Linked DNA regions of Homo sapiens: region 1 is linked to region 2. Evidence: promoter capture Hi-C in human tissues and cell types (Jung and others, 2019). All regions are on one chromosome and are shown on one strand. The core of a region is centred on a gene start or on the middle of the fragment in contact, and the rest is flanking DNA. Distances in the headings are between cores, read along the strand shown.

Region 1 (6,909 bases), core at 3,987-6,486, 200 kb before region 2:
GTGCACCAGGTAAGGGTGTCCACCAGCAACTGTAGGGCCATCAGACCCCTCTTCTTATTTGGGTGCCTGTGTCTGAGCTTCAACCAGCTGGGTATACAAGGGAAATAACACAGAATGAACAAAGCAGGAGCCTTGCCCTACCTCCTATACTCATGTCTCCCACCCGACCCCCATGCCAAGAGGGAGGGGCTCTTTGTTTCTCAGTCGCTGCTCCATGGCCAACCTGACTGCCTAGTGGGGTGGGGTCCTCTGGGTTGGTGCTACTCCACAATCTCTCAGGCAGACATTCTGATGCAAGGCAGTCAATGTTGTTTACATGGGATGAGAGTCGTCTTTCAAATGTTGAAGGGACAGAGTGGACTGAAGCATGGAAACCGGGGCAAGAGACAAGCACTCAAATCTGCCTCCACTGACCTGGGGACAGCAGATGTTGGTGAGTCACGGGATGCTGAATCCCCAAGAGAAGGTGCCCACCCTTCCAGCGCTTAATTACCAGTCCAGCATGGGTGGGAAAAGCCAGCTTAGGATGGGGAGTGGAAGTGGGACCCTTTGTGCTCAAAAGCAAGCAGAAACTGGAGAAGTGAAGTATCTCAGTCCTCCCTACCAAGCCATCTCAGATTCTGAGGAAGATCATGGTAAAAAGTGGGAATAACACAATTATGGGAGTTGCCTCTTATTAACAAAGAGTTTTCTAATTAGTGTCCTGTCCCTAATCTACGACATCTACCTTTGGTAGTCCTAGACCCAGTTTAGGAGAAGATTGGTAGAGAATATGGGGGAGAAACTCTCGTCCTACAAGCCTCCCACTAGGTGAACAAGATCTGTCTTGGGATTTGGAGCAATTTCCTAAACAAGGAAAGGAAGGGAAACTTGACTTCCTGAGATGATAAGAAGGAAGAATCTATTTGAGCCAGCCTCTGAGTGGGAAGGGAACTATGGAACATATTTCAGATTGATACATTATTGTTAAAGAACATTAGCAAAAGCCACATTTTCTTCATAGCAGTAGCACCTTGTGAGAGAACTGAGGTATAGGTTCTTAGCTCAGAAACCCAGGATTCTGATTCCCTGTCCCTTCTTTCCTGTATCTCTGGGCTAGGAGAATAGAAAGGTTCATTTGTTTTTCTCCTAGTTGCCCTGATCAGAGCTGGGATGGTGGGGAGGGGAAGAAAGGGCTAAGAGAGAAAGGCCAGGCTTTTGAAGACATTGTATACAGACTTAGTCAGCTGGACACTTCTCTGCTGGGCTGCTGTCAAGTCCTTCCTGTCCTATTCCTCTCACAACCATGTCCTCTCTCCTCCCCTTCCAGTCCTGGGGCGGGTGCTGGAGGTGACAGATCTCCCTGAGGGCATCACCCGTACTGAGGCGGACAAACTCTTCACGCAGCTCGCCATGTCTGGCGCCAAGATCCAGTGGCTCAAGGATGCTCAGGGGCTGCCTGGAGGGGGTGGGGGGGACAACAGTGGGACTGCTGAGAATGGCCGCCACTCGGACCTCGCTGCCTTGTACACCATTGTGGCTGTGTTCCCCAGCCCCCTGGCTGCCCAAAATGCCTCCCTTCGTCTCAACAACTCCGTGAGTCGCTTCAAACTTCGAATGGCCAAAAAGAACTATGACCTGAGGATCCTGGAGCGAGCCAGCTCCCAATAAATGGAGGAGGGGAAAGGGACTGTCACAGAAGGAGCAAGGGCAGGGTGGAGGGGGTTGAAGGATCCTGACAGACCATGGACAGAGGCAGGAAGTAAGGAAACTGATGTTAAACTGGAACCTAAGACAGTGATGAAGATGGAAACACAGATACCTACACTGGCATTGGACTCCTTCTTGCTCCCCTGCCATGGGTCCTCTCTTTTTCCCTGGTTGACCCCCCTTGCATCACTCTTCTTCCCATCCTCTTCTTTTTTTTTTTTTTTTTTTTTTTGAGACGGAGTTTCGCTCTTGTCACCCCAGCTGGAGTGCAGTAGCACGATCTTGGCTAACTGCAACCTCCAGCTCCTGGGTTCAGGTGATTCTCCTGCCTCAGCCTCCCAAGTAGCTGGCACTACAGACACGCGCCACCATGCCCGGCTAATTTTTGTATTTTTAGTAGAGACGGAGTTTCACCATGTTGGCCAGGCTGGCCTCAAACTCCTGACCTCAGGTGATCCACCTGCCTTGGCCTTCCAGAGTGCTGGGATTACAGGCGTGAGCCACTGTGCCTGGCTTCCATCCTCTTCTATCATTTTTTTAAATCTCTTCTCCTATCATAAAATTAATTTCTCATTTTTTGGTCAGGTAGAATTGGGAAAGTCCCACACTGTCCTCCTATTACCTTAACATCCCAAGCTTCCTTTCCTTTTTTGGTCTTTATGAATATATTTATATGGACAGAATTAAGATAAACAAAATTGATTGCCCCATTCTCTCACTTCCCCATCTTGTCTTCCTAGACCCCACAGAGTTAAAACTTGGGATTCCCCTGGCCCCCCCAGAACACTTGTATATTGTTTGTTTGAGGTTCGTGCCGCAGTAACAGACACAGTATTTAATTGCACATACAGATGTTTGCTGGGTATATTCACTGTAAATTTTATTTAATCTGTTTTTTTGTTTGTTTGGGGGTTATTTGGGGGGAGGTTGGTTTTGTTTTTAAATATAAAAAAAAAAATCTGTCACTGGACATCAGTCACTGTTTCTCTGTTGCCGCCCTGGTATGGGTAAAGGGTTGGAGGCCCTGGGTAGGTATAGCCCTACAGCTGTTGGAGGTGTTTGTCGTGGGTTGGGATGGCTTTCTCTAGCATACGCACACTATTTTAACACCATTCCCTCTGTCTCATCCTCTTCCCTGTACACGGTTCTGATAGATGGCTAGATCTCTAATGGGACCATGGCTTTGGGCTCTCCCGGTTCTGCCACTGTGGTTCATCGAGCATATCACTTCTCAACTCTGGATCTGTGTCCAGATCAGTAAAATAAGAGACTTGGACTTAGTAGGTGACCTCTAGGTTTCCTTCCAGACTATTAATTCTGTGGTACTGTGTACTCATTTAGGGCCCTTGTAGTTGAGTTTTGAGATAGGGTCTTGCTCTGTCACCCAGGCTGGAGTGCAGTGGCAGATCTCAGCTGACTGCAGCCGCCTCCCGTGTTCAAGCGATTCTTGTGCCTCAGTCTCCCGAGTAGCTGGGATTACAGGCGCGATCTAGCATGCCTGGCTAATCTTTTTTTTTTTTTTTTTTGCTATTTTTGGCAGAGACAGGGTTTTACCATGTTGCCCAGGCTGGTCTTGAACTCCTGGGCTCAAGTGATCTCCCGCCTTGGCCTCCTAAAGTGCTGGGATTACAGGCATGAGCCACCACTCCCAGCCCAGCTCGTCTTCTGAAAACCCTTTAGGGATGGAGAACTTGGGCCTTTCTTTTTTTTTTTTTTTTGAGATGGAGTCTCGCCCTGTTGCCCAGGCTGGAGTGCAGTGGCGCGATATCTCGGCTCACTGCAACCTCCACCTCCCGAGTTCAAGCAGTTCTCCTGCCTCAGCCTCCTGAGTAGCTGTGCCCCATCGTGCCCAGCTAATTTTTGTATTTTTAGTTGACATGGGGTTTCACCATGTTGGCCAGGCTGGTCTCGAACTCCTGACCTTGTGATCCACCCGCCTCGGCCTTCCAAAGTGCTGTGATTACAGGCGTGAGCCACCGTGCCTGGCTGCCTTTCTTTAATCCTAAAGCTGGAGGATTGGGTTTTACCTGTCAGGGACAGAAGCAGATTTTTATTACAATGAAAGCTACAGCAACTGAACTCGCAGTGCCAAGATGCTGTATTATCCAAACATGCTCAGCAGTCCCTGTCCTATGTGGCTGAAAAAAGACGAAGAGCAGAAGTCATCTTGCCTGCAAGATGGAGCTTTTCCTTTAGAGCATCTCAAAGCAAGCCCTGTTGTTCTGCAGCCTGTCAGAGCAGGGCCATTAAAGAACCTGCAGAGTCAGAACCATCCTGCACCCCCTTTTCAAACTCCCCCCTTAAATAGAAAAAAGTAGTGGGTGAGAATGACAAAGCACGTTGCCCTGGAAATCTCTTGGGTCCAAGTAGCTGTATCCCTAACGACGATCCTACAGGAGCTTGCCTGACCCAGTCTCCAACACAGTCCTTTATTTCTTACAGATACAAGGAATAGAGCAGCACTGCATTGCCACCTCTAAATTGCTCTCCCCTGAGATGGGAGTATCTCCTCTTTCATCCATGTCACAGCCCAAAGAGTAGAAGGGTGCACCCCTGTGAGATGAGAATGGCATCTGTCTCTTTGATCCATCAGTTATATACTGAGGCATCAAAGGTGGGAGATGGAATCAGGGAATCAAAAGGGTTTAGGAAGTGTGAGGGTTGGCCATCCTACCTTTAAGAGTTTGCAGTTCTCATGAGGAAGGGGACATTACTTAGAAATGATTTAAAAAATTCCTTATGTGGCAGCTATATGCTTCTGTCCAGTGTTAACTGGCCCTTTTTAATAGCCCTGGTAATTCCCTTCAGTCTGAGGACAAAATTTTACAAGAAGGAGGGTGGGGAGATGTCTCTGGGAGCTGCTGGAGGGAATGAAGCAATACTACATATTCTTCACTTTCTTACAGGATAGCAAAGTACTCCTCCAACCACCTACAGATAAAAAGCAATCTAGCCATGCACGGTGGCTCACACCTGTAATCCTAGCACTTTGGGAGGCCAAGGCAGGCGGATCACCTGAGGTCAGGGGTTCGAGACCAGCCTGGCCAACATGGTGAAACCCCATCTGTACTAAAAATACAAAAATTACCTTGGCGTGGTGGTGGGCGCCTGTAATCCCAGCTACTTAGGAGGCTGAGGCAGGAGAATCGCTTGAACCTGGGAGGTTGCAGTGAGCCCGGATCGCTTCATTGCACTCCAGCCTGGGCAACAAGAGCAAGACTCTGTCTCAAAAAAAAAAAAAAAAAAGCCATCTAGTATGGCTGATAGGAGAGCTCTATGAGTTCAAATTAGTCTTTTTTTACCCTGTCTCAAAAAATAAATGAAAAATAAAAATAAACTCCCCTTAAATGTTAAATGAGCATGAACAGAAACTGTCCCTTCCTGAATTCAGCCATTATTCACCTGTTCGCCTTAGATGAAGAATCAAGGAACAGCAGCTCTAGGGGGTTGGGAGGAGTTAGGGTCCGGCCCTGCCCCAGACCTCTCAGTGTCCAATTTCTCTGTGTCAGCTGTGTTTCTCAGCTGTCCACTTTCCTCCAGCCCTGTCATTTCAGCCCTGACACCAAGGCAGGAGGCTAGGAGGTCTACAAATAGCGACTGGGTAGCTGGTGTGAACACAGGGGGTACTGGGGGGGCTTAGCCCCCAAGGAAGAGGACCAGTTTTTCCCCAGCACCACCATCAAGGCCTCGAGGCTCCCAGCTCCCTCTACAGCCTGTGGACTGACTTAGGGAATCCCGAACGTAAGTTACCTCTTCATCCTCTTGATTTCCACGACTGCTCACCCCAGCTGCCCTGATCTATAATCTACTCAGCTTCTTCATTTCTCTCCTTGTCTGTGAGTCTTTTGGGTTTTAGGCGTAAAATTATTATTCTACTCTAGGATGAGTTTGGATTGAAGCGGGGGGTGGGGGTGGGGGTGGGGTGAAGGGAATGAAGTAGTAAGGGAAGGAAAGGCTCATATTACCCTGAAAACTTAAAATAGCTGAGCCCTGAGGCAGGCTGGGACAGAACTAGGCACAGGGCCCCCAGGGCTCAAGAAAAAAGTAGGGGAGGACAAATGTCTCCAGTCCATCCTTCCTTGTGTGCACACGAGGACACACATTAAACCTCTTGAAGAGAGGAGATCTGGGAAGGTATGCATCACATCTCTGTTGCCCACAGATTTCCAGGAGAAACAAAGTACCTATAGGAAAATGACGTAAACCACGCAGCTTTGAACACTGTGTAAGGGCTGTAAACTATGGGGTCGCCCCTCAGGATGGAAGGATGAGTATCAGTTTGAGGAACTAATTGGGAAGCTCTTTAGTCTGTTGGGCTTTTTTTTTTTTTTTTTTTTTTTTTTTGAGACGAAGTCTTGCTCTGTCACCCAGGCTGGAGGGCAGTGGCACAATCCCGGCTCACTGCAACCTCCGCCTCCCGGGTTCAAGCGATTATCCTTCCTCAGCTTCCTGAGTGGATGGGATTACAGGCGTCCGCCACCACACCCGGCTAATTTTTATATATTTAGTAGAGATGGGGTTTCACCATGTTGGCCAGGCTAGTCTTGAACTCCTGATCTCTAGTGATCCGCCTGCCTCAGCCTCCCAAAGTGCTGGGATTACAGGCATGCACCACCACACCCGGCCATGTTAAGCTTTTTTCTAGACCTCCATGAAATCTGTTAATAAAACCTGCCAAAGGATCTGTATTTGGCCCAGTGCAGTGGCTCACGCCTGTCTCAACAATTTGGGAGGTTGAAACAGGAAGATTGCTTGAGCTAGTTCGGGACCAGCCTAGGCAACAAAGCAAGACCATGTCTCTACAAAAAATAAAAAAGTAGCCAGGTAGTGTGCACCTTGTGTTCCAGCTACTCAGGAAGCTGAGGTAGGGGGATCGCTTCAGGCTGGGAGGTCGAGGCTGCAGTGAGCCATGATCACGCCACTGCACTCCAGCCTGGGTGACAGAGTGAGACCCCATCTCAACAGTAACAACAGCAAAATCTCTCATCACATTTCTCCGAAAGCCTCCCCTTTGAGGACCACCCTACTGCAAGGGACAGAAAGGGAGAGAAGAATGAAAGGGATTAGATTTCATAGTGGGGTCCAACCTCTTGCAGGATGACAGAAAAGGAGGTGCTGGAGTCCCCTAAGCCCTCCTTCCCAGCAGAGACTCGGCAAAGTGGGGTGAGTCTGGGCCTCTGACCACTGGGTGTGGGGGGCTGGGAAGCCATTACAGCTGAA
Region 2 (6,064 bases), core at 566-3,065:
TCTAGAAATGTTAATGGGGGAAAAAGGAAGGTGATTTAGGAGTCAAAGTAGAGGAAGACTAATACGCTCTGGTTGCTTCAGTTTTGCCTAGAAAGCAGGAGATTAGAAAATCCCAGCTGACTTGGATGTGTATTTCATATCTTGTTAATTTAGGCTGACCCACTGGCTCCAGTTTGCCTGGGACTTTCCTAGTTTTAACACTCAAATTCCCATGTCCAGAGAACCCCACTGTGTCCCACAGGCGGATCAGTACAGTTGGTTGCCCTAGCTGTGATGTTCATGTCATTGTTCTTACACCTGAGAGTGCCATCTCATTTTAGAGTCACTTTTCTCGTGAGTAAGCACATAGTAGGCACTCAGTTGACTGAATGGGTGGACATGCAGGTAAACCCCAGATGGCTGCAGATTCCTGGCCTAGAGAACATGAGACTTGGGTTTTGGTGCCAGCTCTGCCAGGTTTGCAGTGGTGTGACCCTGGAAAAGTGGTTTTCTCACTCTAGATCTGTTTCCTCCACTGGTAAATAGGTGATATTTGTCACTTCTGCCTCTAGGACATGGATACTGCTCCACCTACACATAGCATTATGTTTTGATGTCACTTCCACTCAGCTTTCTCTCTTTTCCTTGCCCCCCTCCACCTTCAAATATATGTAGTAGATCAATAAATTATGTAAAGGCAGGTTGATAATAGAACTGCTGATGTGCCAGGCTTACGCAGAGTGCTTCTGTGAGAGCCATAGAGTTTGGACCTTGCACCAAGCAGCCATAGCTGAGAGTTGGAGAATCAAGTCTCTCTTCAGTTAAGTGTCTATAATTACCTAATTTGTTCTTTCTGCATGCCTGGGAGAGAGGATGGTAGGCAGAGGGGGCTTGCTGTTTTTAGGAATTTTCCTGGCTGGATGAAGGGGTACTTCTTATCTATCAGAGGGAGCTATTACATTAGCTCAGGGTCTTACTCAGTATCCTAGTGCTGACGAATTAAAATTAGAAACTTCAGAACTTGGGCTGCAACTTTTGGCAAACTTAGGGAGCTGCATTCTGTTCCTGGTTCTGCCATGCACTAGCATGGAACTGTGGGCACATTGTGTAACCTCTCTGAGTCTGGTGTTTGTTCCTAGTTTTCCATTTTAATGGAGTATCTGTATTGCCTTCCTCGGGGTGGTGCTATTCAGTGAGGCAATGCAAGGGGGAGTTCAATGAAACTGGGACATCTATACACATGTGAGGTATTATTACTAATCACTTTAATCTTTGGGTCTCTATGATAGGGTCTGATTCATGGGGGAAGGGAAGTGGAGAAGAATTTGGGGATTTTGTCTGCTTAGCTCTCCAAGTAATCTCATTAACATCCCCTGACTCCCGATAAGATAGGAAGAGTAGGTATGAGGGAGGTACTGTTTTTTTGCTAGGAAGACACTCTTTGTAAAGACGTGTCTCGCCATGTTGCCTAGGCTGGTCTCGAACTCCTGGGCTCAAGTGATCCTCCCGCCTTGGCCTCCCAAAGTGCTGGGAGTATAGGCATGAGCAACCGCACTTGGCCCTACCTGTCCTTGACAAAATTCCTGACTTCTCTTTGGGAAATATTTTCCTTGGCTATAAATTCCATTCTTCCAGCTTTCATTTCCAAATTTGGGAGACAATGGAGCAAGAACCCTCCTTTAGTTAAGCCTCTCAGCTAACGCCAGCCAGATACCCTTTCCTACCTAGAGGGAGCTTGAGTGTCTCCCTCTGGGGCTTCAGGCCTGTGAAGGGTTAAGTGAGCCACACCCTCAGCAGGAACAGTCTGGACTTTGTGCTGATCAGCCATCTCCGGCCTCTCCTGGTTTGACTGGCACAGGGAGCCTGGGCTGGAAGAGGCAGCAAAAGGGAAAATCAGAAGAGTGGACACTGGCAAGAGGAGGGCAGCCTTTTTCCCAGCTTCCTTGCACCATGGACAGCTCCCATTAAGCCACCTCTCCATCCTGGGGCCAGGACTCTTATGCCCCATTCCTGTCAAATTGAGATTTCATCCACCATTCTCCAAGGACAGTGAAGTTATACCCTAGTTCCAGTGTTGGGTGAGTCCTGCCTTGACCTGTCACTGCTTCTCTTTAACACCTTGGGGCGCCCCATCTGGGGCCTCTTGCCTTTTTCCCTTCCCCACCCTCAACCAGTCACATTCCCACTCCCTTCAAATCCAAATCCAAAGAAGATGACTGCTCCCAACCCACCTTCTGCTTCTCACCCTTCCCTGCCAAGTTAGTTAAAAGACTTAGCTTTTTGTAAAATCTAGAAAATACAAAAATAGTATCTACTTCATGGGGATATTGTAAGCACTAAATGAATTAGTGTATGTACAGTGCTTAGAGCCCTGCCCAGTTCGTGGTAAACGCTGCATGATTCCTAGAGACTGCTATTATTGATATTCTTATTGCTTCCTCAGTTGTGTCCTTCTGGTAAGTGACAAGTGCTCTCTTTTCCTAGAGCTTGGGGAAAGCCAAGTGAAGGGAGAAGGAAGCCTGTGCCCCTTCTTGCCCCACTTCCGTTCCTCCTTCCTCCGCTCCTCCACCCGGGTTCAGAGATGCAATAGCATAGGAGGATGTGTCTCTTTCATTCCTGTTCAGGAGTGGCCTTGACCATTGTACTAATAATCCTGTCCTGTGCCTGGCCACTCTGCCTACTCAGTCTCACAGGAAAGACTGAGGAGGGCCAGGTTTCCTCCTTAGGGAACACCTGCCATGTGCCTACTGCATGGGGGCCAAGCCCCACCACCCTCCCTGTAGTTCCAACTGTGCTCCTCCTTGCCCACTCCCGCAAGAAGCTAGGTGTGTCCCTCTGGGGCAAAGTCCATGCCAGAAGTTTACAGGAGTGGGTGTAAAAGCTAGAGATGGAAAAATAGAGACAGACATGTAGCACATCCAGAGGTCCTGACAACTGCCTGTTTGTTGGGGAAGCAAACCCCACTTTCATTTTCTTTGGGAAATTCCAATCTCTTATGGAGGAATCCTGCCTCTATCCTCTATAATTCTGCCTTGTCAAGTTCCCATTTTAAAAATGAAGCTCACTGTAGCAATGACAGGGAAGGAGAGACCTTTGGAAGAACTTCTGAAATGGTTATGGGTAGGTTGGGTGTCTTTAATAGGGGCTGTGAGAGGTAAGGTGTTGAGAAGAAGCACTGGGGGTAGATGGGGAGTCTGGACCCTGGCCAGGGCCCATTGTAGGAGAGAGAGGGCTTTCTGTACCTGGCGGCAGCACAAGTCTTTGCTTACACTTTCCTCCTCAGCCCTCTCTCCTTCAGTCACAACTCTGCTCCCCCAGTTGTAGCCCACTGGGTGCCTGCCTTCCCCTGGTGGTCAGAGGAAGGTGTTCCTGTTCCACCCCTGCCCCACCCCCACCAACTGTAACCCAGGCAGCAGAGGATCTCCCCCACCTCCTGCTGAGAGTTTCAGCCTCCCTATTAGCTTGGGCTGGTCCAGAGGCCTCTCCTAGGTTGGGGGCTCTCTTTAGGGCCAGGGTAGGAAGAGAGGAAGGCTCTTTTGGTCCTTCTGCCATCCTCCCCTCAAACAGTTACTGGCCCCTAAAGCTGAGTGGACATCAGCAAACTGTGCCTCTTATTCCCAGGATCAGTGGCCCCTCTGGACATGCCTCTCCTGGAAGGTTCTGTGGGGGTGGAGGATCTTGTCCTCCTGGAACCCTTGGTGGAGGAGTCACTGCTCAAGAATCTTCAGCTTCGCTATGAAAACAAGGAGATTTATGTGAGTGTCATATGGGTGCCTCTGGCTGTGGATATGTGGCTGGAGAGGTCACAGGCTCCCACCTCACCCTCAAGCTCATTCCCTTCACCTTCTTCCTGGCTCCAGACCTACATTGGGAATGTGGTGATCTCAGTGAATCCCTATCAACAGCTTCCCATCTATGGGCCAGAGTTCATTGCCAAATATCAAGACTATACTTTCTATGAGCTGAAGCCCCATATGTGAGTAGGGGGACCAAGGGAAGGCTGACAGGGCCCCAGCTTCTTGACACTGAGTCATCCTAATTTCCTTTGTCCCTTCCCCTGAAGGGGCTTCTCCAGCTGCCCCTTCCTTCCCTGGCCTTCTGGAGGCCCCTTCCAAGGCCTGTCACATCTTGCCCAGTCTGCTCCAAGTAGAGAGAGTGGATGAACCTGCGTGCTGGAGATTGAGTGAAAGATGGTGTCTTGAACTGGTTTCACAATAGTCATTGCCCACTTCCTCCCCACAAGCTACGCATTGGCAAATGTGGCGTACCAGTCACTGAGGGACAGGGACCGAGACCAGTGTATCCTCATCACAGGCGAGAGTGGATCAGGGAAGACTGGTGAGGCCCCTGGCTGGGGGAACACATGGAGTCACCTCTGGAACTGCTTCCTTGTCTCTTTGCAAGCCAGACCTAGACCTGACCCTCCACCCCACAGAACTTCCTTTCCACTTTTTCTGACTCCAAGGGGTGGTGAGGCACTGGGGTGAAGCAAGTTAAGGAGGTGGGGGGATGGGCTAGTCCTGGGTGGGGACCCATGAGAGCGTTTTGCCTGCACAGAGGCCAGCAAGCTGGTGATGTCTTATGTGGCTGCCGTCTGTGGGAAAGGAGAGCAGGTGAACTCTGTGAAGGAGCAGCTGCTACAGTCTAACCCAGTGCTGGAGGGTGAGAATTCTGCTCTCTGCCCTCTCCACCCTCCATCTAACCCCCAGAATCACTGAGCCCTAGACCCTCTTCCCCAGTGCTGCAAAATCACCTCTCTTGTTCGACCCAGAAAAATCTGAGATTGTCATGAGGACTGGAAGCCCTTCCTCCTTTCCCTTCTCTAGAGTTTCACTTCTCCCCTCCTCATCTCTGTAGCTTTTGGCAATGCCAAGACCATTCGCAACAACAATTCCTCCCGATTTGTGAGTAAATGTCTCCCCACCTGGGAAGAGAGGATGTGGGGGCTTAAGAGGGAGGAATGTGGCACAGACCCCTTCCAGGCAGGGTGGTGAGAAGAGGAAGAAGCTAAGTCTCTCTCTCTGGTCTCTCTCTGAAGGGAAAATACATGGATATTGAATTTGACTTCAAGGGATCCCCCCTCGGTGGTGTCATCACAAACTGTACGTGTCTCCCCAATTCCACTCACCTGTCTTCCACCTGCCTCCCATGGCCCTTTCTGCTAATCTGTTCCTGTAGAAAGGCAGAATGTTAGACGTCAAGGAGACTTCCCAACCACTAGGAATGCCGGCGATGGGGGCATTCTCCAGTAGGGCTGGAGAAGCTACGGCATCTCCCAGGCCCTCAGGATATTATTTTTCTAATTCTCTGCCAGATCTGCTTGAGAAATCCCGATTAGTGAAGCAGCTCAAAGGAGAAAGGAACTTCCACATCTTCTATCAGCTGCTGGCTGGAGCAGATGAACAGCTGCTGAGTATGTGCCTGCATGGGGAAAGTGTCCTCATGAGTGACACATGGCAAAGTCCCCAACCTCCATTCAGTCCCAGAACCCCTGTTCCCTCTGGGCCCCTACAGCCCTCTTCCCTTGAGCCTCCCAGATTTTCCTTGCTGCATTTCCCATTCTCAGCCTCACCCACTCATTGTTGGGAACAAATTCCTTTACCCCTGTGTTCTCTTCCTTTTCTGGGGTTTTATTGCCAGGGATATGCCTTCTTGCCTCTTCACTGTTCTCGTTCCTCTTTCCTGCCTGGGTTCTGCTTTCCCTGAGCTGGCTTCAAATATAAAACACTTATATCCATCTACTTTCCTTCCTACCTTCAACTTAAGGGGATTTAATTAAAGCAGGGAAGCAGGCAGAATGTTGTAAGTGTTCAGGAACTTTCAGTGAACTCTAGTTGAAGCTGTCCTGGGTCTACATCTGCCTTACCTAGGACCCTGTTCCTGATTTTCTTTTCATTCATTCATTCACTCATTCATTTATTCATTCATTCAACATCTCTTGAACACCTATGATCAAATATTATGCTAGCCTCTAGGGATACAGAGTTGAGTAAGACATGACCCTGTCCTCGAAGAACTTATAGTCTTCTAGGGATAAGAGGTGTGTGAGCAGATCCATTGTAATATTGTGTGATCGGGGCCATCA

What was found. The method cuts DNA at HindIII sites, captures the fragments that hold promoters and counts their contacts. A contact is called where the count stands out against the background at its distance.
Region 1: the fragment with the promoter of STAC3 here is called in contact with the fragment with the promoter of MYO1A in region 2 in 2 of the 25 tissues and cell types used here (adrenal gland and aorta).

What each region holds. Positions count from the first base shown.
Region 1 is chr12:57,249,514-57,256,422 of GRCh38, reverse strand. It overlaps STAC3 (SH3 and cysteine rich domain 3), which reads left to right and starts at 5,236. Exons shown (of 12, transcript NM_145064.3): 1 at 5,236-5,430; 2 at 6,786-6,852. The coding sequence starts at 6,787. It overlaps R3HDM2 (R3H domain containing 2), which reads left to right. Exons shown (of 24, transcript NM_001394031.1): 22 at 1-9; 23 at 349-433; 24 at 1,310-2,659. The coding sequence ends at 1,650. The HindIII fragment of the contact is 9,667 bases long and covers 1,100-6,909 here.
Region 2 is chr12:57,045,880-57,051,943 of GRCh38, reverse strand. MYO1A (myosin IA) reads left to right here and starts at 1,815. Exons shown (of 28, transcript NM_005379.4): 1 at 1,815-2,057; 2 at 3,601-3,734; 3 at 3,840-3,955; 4 at 4,223-4,317; 5 at 4,537-4,641; 6 at 4,837-4,883; 7 at 5,018-5,081; 8 at 5,294-5,392. The coding sequence starts at 3,621. RefSeq lists an enhancer at 3,894-5,093. The HindIII fragment of the contact is 15,407 bases long and covers 1-6,064 here.